2 separate regions of the Homo sapiens genome follow, and region 1 is linked to region 2. Evidence: promoter capture Hi-C in 16 types of primary human blood cells and fetal thymus (Javierre and others, 2016). All regions are on one chromosome and are shown on one strand. The core of a region is centred on a gene start or on the middle of the fragment in contact, and the rest is flanking DNA. Distances in the headings are between cores, read along the strand shown. Region 1 holds the start of FRMD1 (FERM domain containing 1). Region 2 holds the start of DACT2 (dishevelled binding antagonist of beta catenin 2).

The links. Contacts are between HindIII fragments. The CHiCAGO score rates a contact against its expected background, and 5 or more counts as called.
Region 1: the fragment with the promoter of FRMD1 here is called in contact with the fragment with the promoter of DACT2 in region 2 in 5 of 17 cell types (erythroblasts, neutrophils, monocytes and 2 more); the score reaches 7.9 in erythroblasts.

What each region holds. Positions count from the first base shown.
Region 1 is chr6:168,077,848-168,080,554 of GRCh38, reverse strand. It overlaps FRMD1 (FERM domain containing 1), which reads left to right and starts at 1,343. Exons shown (of 11, transcript NM_024919.6): 1 at 1,343-1,673. The coding sequence starts at 1,461. RefSeq lists an enhancer at 1,631-2,352. The HindIII fragment of the contact is 11,905 bases long and covers 1-2,707 here.
Region 2 is chr6:168,318,527-168,321,226 of GRCh38, reverse strand. It overlaps DACT2 (dishevelled binding antagonist of beta catenin 2), which reads left to right and starts at 1,450. Exons shown (of 4, transcript NM_214462.5): 1 at 1,450-1,839. The coding sequence starts at 1,594. The HindIII fragment of the contact is 10,835 bases long and covers 1-2,700 here.

The sequences.
Region 1 (2,707 bases), core at 94-2,593, 240 kb after region 2:
GCGGCTGAGGGCACCCGGCACAGGGACGAGCTGCTCAGGCGCCAGTGGCACAGGGCCATGAGGATCCAGCCTCTGCTCTCTGGGGCTGTTTTTTTTTGTGGTTTTTTTGCCATTTTTAAAACTTTTTGTGCTCTCAGCTAAAGGGATCCCCACATCTTCCATAGTGAACAGCTCTACGTTTGCTGTGGAGAGAAAAGAGACCGCCACTGCTGTCTTGGGCACACATGTGTGGCCTCGAGGGTCTGGGAAGGGTCTGGATCTGAGCGGAGGGAGGGAGGGAGGGAGCCAGTGTCAGTCCAGGGTCCGGGGGAGGTGAGGCCTAAGCCTCCTAAATCTTCTCAACCCACCGGGCCGGGCCTTAGGGCGGCTGGAGTGCGAATTTCCTAAACCCACCGGGCCAGGCCTTAAGGCGGCTGGAGTGCGAATTTCCTAAGATGAACAACGGCCCGTCCGGAGGTCCAGACCCCTTACTAGAGGAAGGTCCCAGAGCATCCCAGACTCCATGGCAGGAAACTGATGGAGCTCACGGCTGAGGACAGAATTCCACAGCCCAGGCCCGTGGGAACTGCCTCTCCTGACCTGCAGCGCCCAAAGGTCTGGGTGGTCCCAGGGCCAGGCAGGATCCTGGGGTCCCTTCCCCACCTAACACTGTGCCAAAGAGCTCGAAGGCGTTGCTCATCTCTGCTGAGCGGCCTCAGGGGTTCCAGGCCCTGCGGGAGATGTCCCCACCCCTCGTGCTGATGCACCCGGCTGCTGTCCACGCAAGCCAGGACCCCCTTCCTGGCCTTCCAGCTGCTGCAGGCAGGAAGGGATTTGCTGGCCCTGGACAAGGAAGGAAGTGTCCTCAGTTTCCAGCCCCTAAAGGGAGCCAGGGTCCCTCCTGGCAGAACCTGTCCAGGAACGGCAGCTGTGCTGCTTCCTGAGGTCGATAACAGATGCCACAGGAGGTGTGTGGGGCAGGGTGCCCACCCAGGCTGCCTTCCTCCCGCCCTCCTCGTCCTGCCCTGCTGCTGCTCCATCTTCCCCAGCAGCCCTGGCTCTGGCATCTGTGCCCATGGGGTTTGCATAGCCCTCTCCACATTATAGAAGAAGGAGCAGGCACCCTGAGGAGATAGGGGTTGTCAGGTGGAGGAGTTGGGTCCTGTCTCCCCCAGCCTGGTTCTCACGGGGCCCACACCGAGGCTGGCTGCTGAGCTACCCTGCATGGGAGTGCTGCATGGCGGGTGCCCAGCCTGAGGTTGTTTATTTGCATTCCTGGCGCCCTCCACACACCCAGCTATTTGCAGCTCTGACCCTTGTCCTGGCTTGGCCATGCTGGATTCCCAGCCCAGGCTTCCCTCTCAATTCCCTTCCCAGTGAGAAGCTCGGCAAGGGCGGGTCCCGGAAAGCACAGCTGTGATCTGGGAGGTGCTGAGCACCCACCTGCGACCCATGGCGGGGGAGGGCCGAGTAACGACAGCATGGCGGTGCCCCCGAGAGGGAGGGGCATAGACCCCGCCCGGACAAACCCTGACACGTTCCCTCCTTCAGGGGCGCGATGTATGGAACCCAGTCCTGAGAGGCCTGCATGCAGTCAGCAGGAGCCGACCCTGGGAATGGACGCGATGGCCTCGGAACACAGGGATGTCCTCGTGCTGCTGCCCAGCCGGGAGCAACTGCGGCTGGCCGTGGGGGTGAGCAGGGCCCTGGGTGGCCGTGGGGGTAAACAGAGCTGTGGGGGTGAGCAGGGCTCCGGGTGGCCGTGGGGGTGAGCAGGGCCCTGGGTGGCCGTGGGGGTGAGCAGGGCCCTGGATGGCCTTGGGAGTAAACAGAGCCATGGGGGTGAGGAGGGCCCTGGGTGGCCATAGGGGTGAGCAGGGCTGTGGGGGTGAGCAGAGCCATGGGGGTGAGCAGGGCCCTGGGTGGCCGTGGGGGTGAGCAAGGCTGTGGGGGTGAGCAGGGCCGTGAGGGTGAGCAGAGCCGTGGGGGTGAGCAGGGCTGTGAGGGTGAGCAGAGCCGTGGGGGTGAGCAGGGCCGTGGGGGTGAGCAGGGGTATGGGGTGAGCAGAGCCTCAGGACACAGCCTGTGTATGGAAAGTCCCTGGACCGCCTCACTCTGCTTAGGCCAGGTGTCTGTGAGGTGTCAAGGGCCAGCCCTTTCACTGGGCCTGTGAAGGAAACATCCCTGATAGACGTTGCTGTGAGAAATAAGTTTATGGTTCAGCACATCCTTCCCGGGAGGGAGCGCTGAGGGAAGAGCGCCAGGAAGCCGGTTTCCAAGGAGCAGCTCCTGTCTTGTGTTCAGACGTCACCATCTCTATGCTTCTCTATTTCCTTTTCTTTTCCCTTTCCCCCATTTTGTCTACCTGTTTTAGTTGAGTTCATGGCGACAGGAGTTGAGATGGTACTTTCATTTTAATGATTAATGTGGATAATGAAAATGTGGCAATTAAAATGAGAGTGGTTTGTTGAAGAACGATGACTTTCTGCATAGCTAATGTATCATTGCTACCTGGAATGGAGTATGACTTGCTAGTAATATCCTGGTTCAAGTCCCCTGGGAATCTGGGAGTCTCTTGTCTGCTTCGGGATAGAGTTCTGTGTTTACGTAAACGCCCACATCTATGTTTGTGGCAAAATCTTCCCCAAGACTCTGTGTCCCCACCCAGCAACGAGAAGCTGGAGTTGAGCTAATGGGGGATGTCCTGTAGTTTCCTGGGGTCCCCAGC
Region 2 (2,700 bases), core at 201-2,700:
AAATCATGTCTGATAAGGGAATTGTATAATGAATACTCACATCTCAATAACGAAAAGACAACCTAAATTTTAAAATGGGCCAAGGATCTGAATAGACAGTTCTCCAAAGGAAGTATACAACAAGCACATGGAAAGATGCTCAACGTCCTTAGCCATCGGGGAAACACAAATCAAAACCACAGGGAGATACCACTTCACATCTGCTGGACTAAAGACAGCGGTTGGTGTGCACACTGAGGAAATGGAACCCTCATACCCCGCTGGCTGCTGTGATTCCACTTGGAAAGCAGCCTGGCAGCTCCTCACAAGATTAAGCACGGTAGTCACCTACGATCCAGCCATTCCTCTCTTAGGTATAATGAAAACATATTGCCACACAAAAACTCATACAGGAATGTCCTTGCAGCGTTATTCGTAATAGCTAAAAAATGGAACAACTCACATGTCATCAGCAGATGAATGGATAAACAAAACTTGGCACAGCCATGCAGTGGAGTATTATTCAGCCACACAAAGGAATACAGTTCTGACGCAATCTGCAGCACAGACGCACCTTGAAAACGCTCACCAAAAGGAGCCCCCACAGAGACCTCCTGGCGTGTGACCCCATTTCCATGAACTTCCAGAACCTGCGGGGTGGTGGTTCTATGTGTGGGGGTGCAGGAGAGGGAATGGGGGTAGCTACCGATGAGAACAGGGTTTCTTTTGGGGGTGGTGAACACAACTTCGTTAATATACTAAAAACGAACTGTACACCTTAAATTAGGTGAGTTTTATGGTATGTGAACTGCATCTTAAGCAATTATTTTAAAAATTTAAAAAGCAAGCTGAGCAGCCTGGCCAACATGGTGAAACCCCATCTGTACTAAAAATACAAAAATTAGCCAGGTATGGTGGTAGGCGCCTGTAGTCCCAGCTACTCGGGAGGCTGAGGCAGGAGAATCGCTTGAACCCGGGAGGCAGAGGTTGCAGTGAGAGGAGATCGCGCCACTGCACTCCAGCCTGGGCGACAGAGCGAGACACTGTCTCAAAAAAAAAAAAAAAAAAAAAAAAAAAAAAAAAAAAGCGAGGTGCGGTTTCCAAACTGCAGATACCCATTGGGAAACGTGGGTAACACGGTTTTGAAATCTCTACTGCGTCTGTAATGGTAACACGGTCCTTGCAATGTGATAATGTCCCAATAGTTTATCTTTATAAACATTTTAAAACATTAACAAGCCTTTCTCCGCCTTTGTTCCACTTGCGCCTCTTTGCCCCTCTCCCCCGGGCTCCTCCTCCCGGCTGGCCCTCCCCGCTGAAGTCACGGAGGCGCTCAGCTGGCCCCGGGGTCTGGGTGCGCCCGCCCTGCCCGCAGCCGGCGAGGGGCCCTGGGGGGTCGGCGGGGCGGGTCCGGGGGAGGCCGCGGTGACCTCGGGGCGCGTGCAGACCCCGCCCTCCGCGCCTGGCCACAGATTCCAGCCCACCTTGGCGACCTGCGGAGCCGGGGGCGGAGAGAGGAGGCGCAGGAGGACCCGCGACACAGCTCGGGATCCGCGCGCGCTGGGCCTCCGGCGCCGCTCGTGGGGTTCGGGAGGCCGGGACCCTGCCCGGGAGATGTGGACGCCGGGCGGACCCCCGGGGTCCGCGGGCTGGGACCGCCGTAGGTTGGGCGCGAGGTTGCGCGCGGCGTTCGCGGGGCTGCAGGAGCTGCAGGGGCTGCGAGCCACGCAGCAGGAGCGGGTACGGGGCGCCCTGGCCCTGCAGCCCCCGCCCGCGCCCGCCGCGCCCTGCGGCCCCCACGGCCTCCACGGCCCCGAGCAGCAGCTGGAGGCGGCGCTGGCCGCGCTGCAGGAGCAGCTGGTAAGGACCGGGCGCCGGGACTCGGGGCTGCGAGGTGTGCGGGCCACAGGCGCTGCTCCTTCGGCAGCGACTGTGTGTTAGTGGGACGGGGGTGTCTGATGGATGGAGGGGACGTCCTTTGGGATTTGAATGGAATGCAGTTCGGTCTCCAAGGAGGGGGACATGGAGGCCCCGCGCGCAGGTGCCTAGAGGTGAAGCGCACAGGTGAGGACCCTGAAAACTGCCCGGGGCTGCAGCCCGCGCTCCGCCGTGCGTGGATGTGCGCCTACCCACGCCAGCATCCCGAAGCTGGCAGATTTGGGAGAGACACCCTGTTCGTTACAGGGTTACAGCACTGATCTGACCTGCAGGCACTGACCGGCGTTCCCCTGGCGGAGGTCGGCTCGGGATCCTGGCATCACTCCCCCCCCGGGGACCAGGTCCCCCCTGCTGTCTTGGGTTAGGGGCAACAGTGTCCGCGTGGTAAAGCGCACCCCGACTTGTCCTCAGGAATGTGCTGACTTTTCTTAAGGTCGCGTCACTGTAATAAAGTATTGGGGGAAAGCATGTAACTGACAAAGGCCTCTTCAACTTTAAAATGTGACCTGACCTGTAAGGAGAGGCGTGTCCTCTGATCCAGAGGAGAGAGACTCTGATTTCCCTGCCACGGGCCCTCTTCAGCACTCCCTGGGCGCTCTGAACCCCTCCTTTCACACAATGAAAGGAACTCCACTCATTACCCCTCTGCTTATTATGTTATTGTATGATTTTGTTAAACTTACTGGAAACAACTCACAAGCGTTTTCGTAGTTGCTGTATTTTCTTAAAGACAAACTAAAAAGGCTGGAGAAAGATATGTTTACTTGTGTTACCTCTGTTACA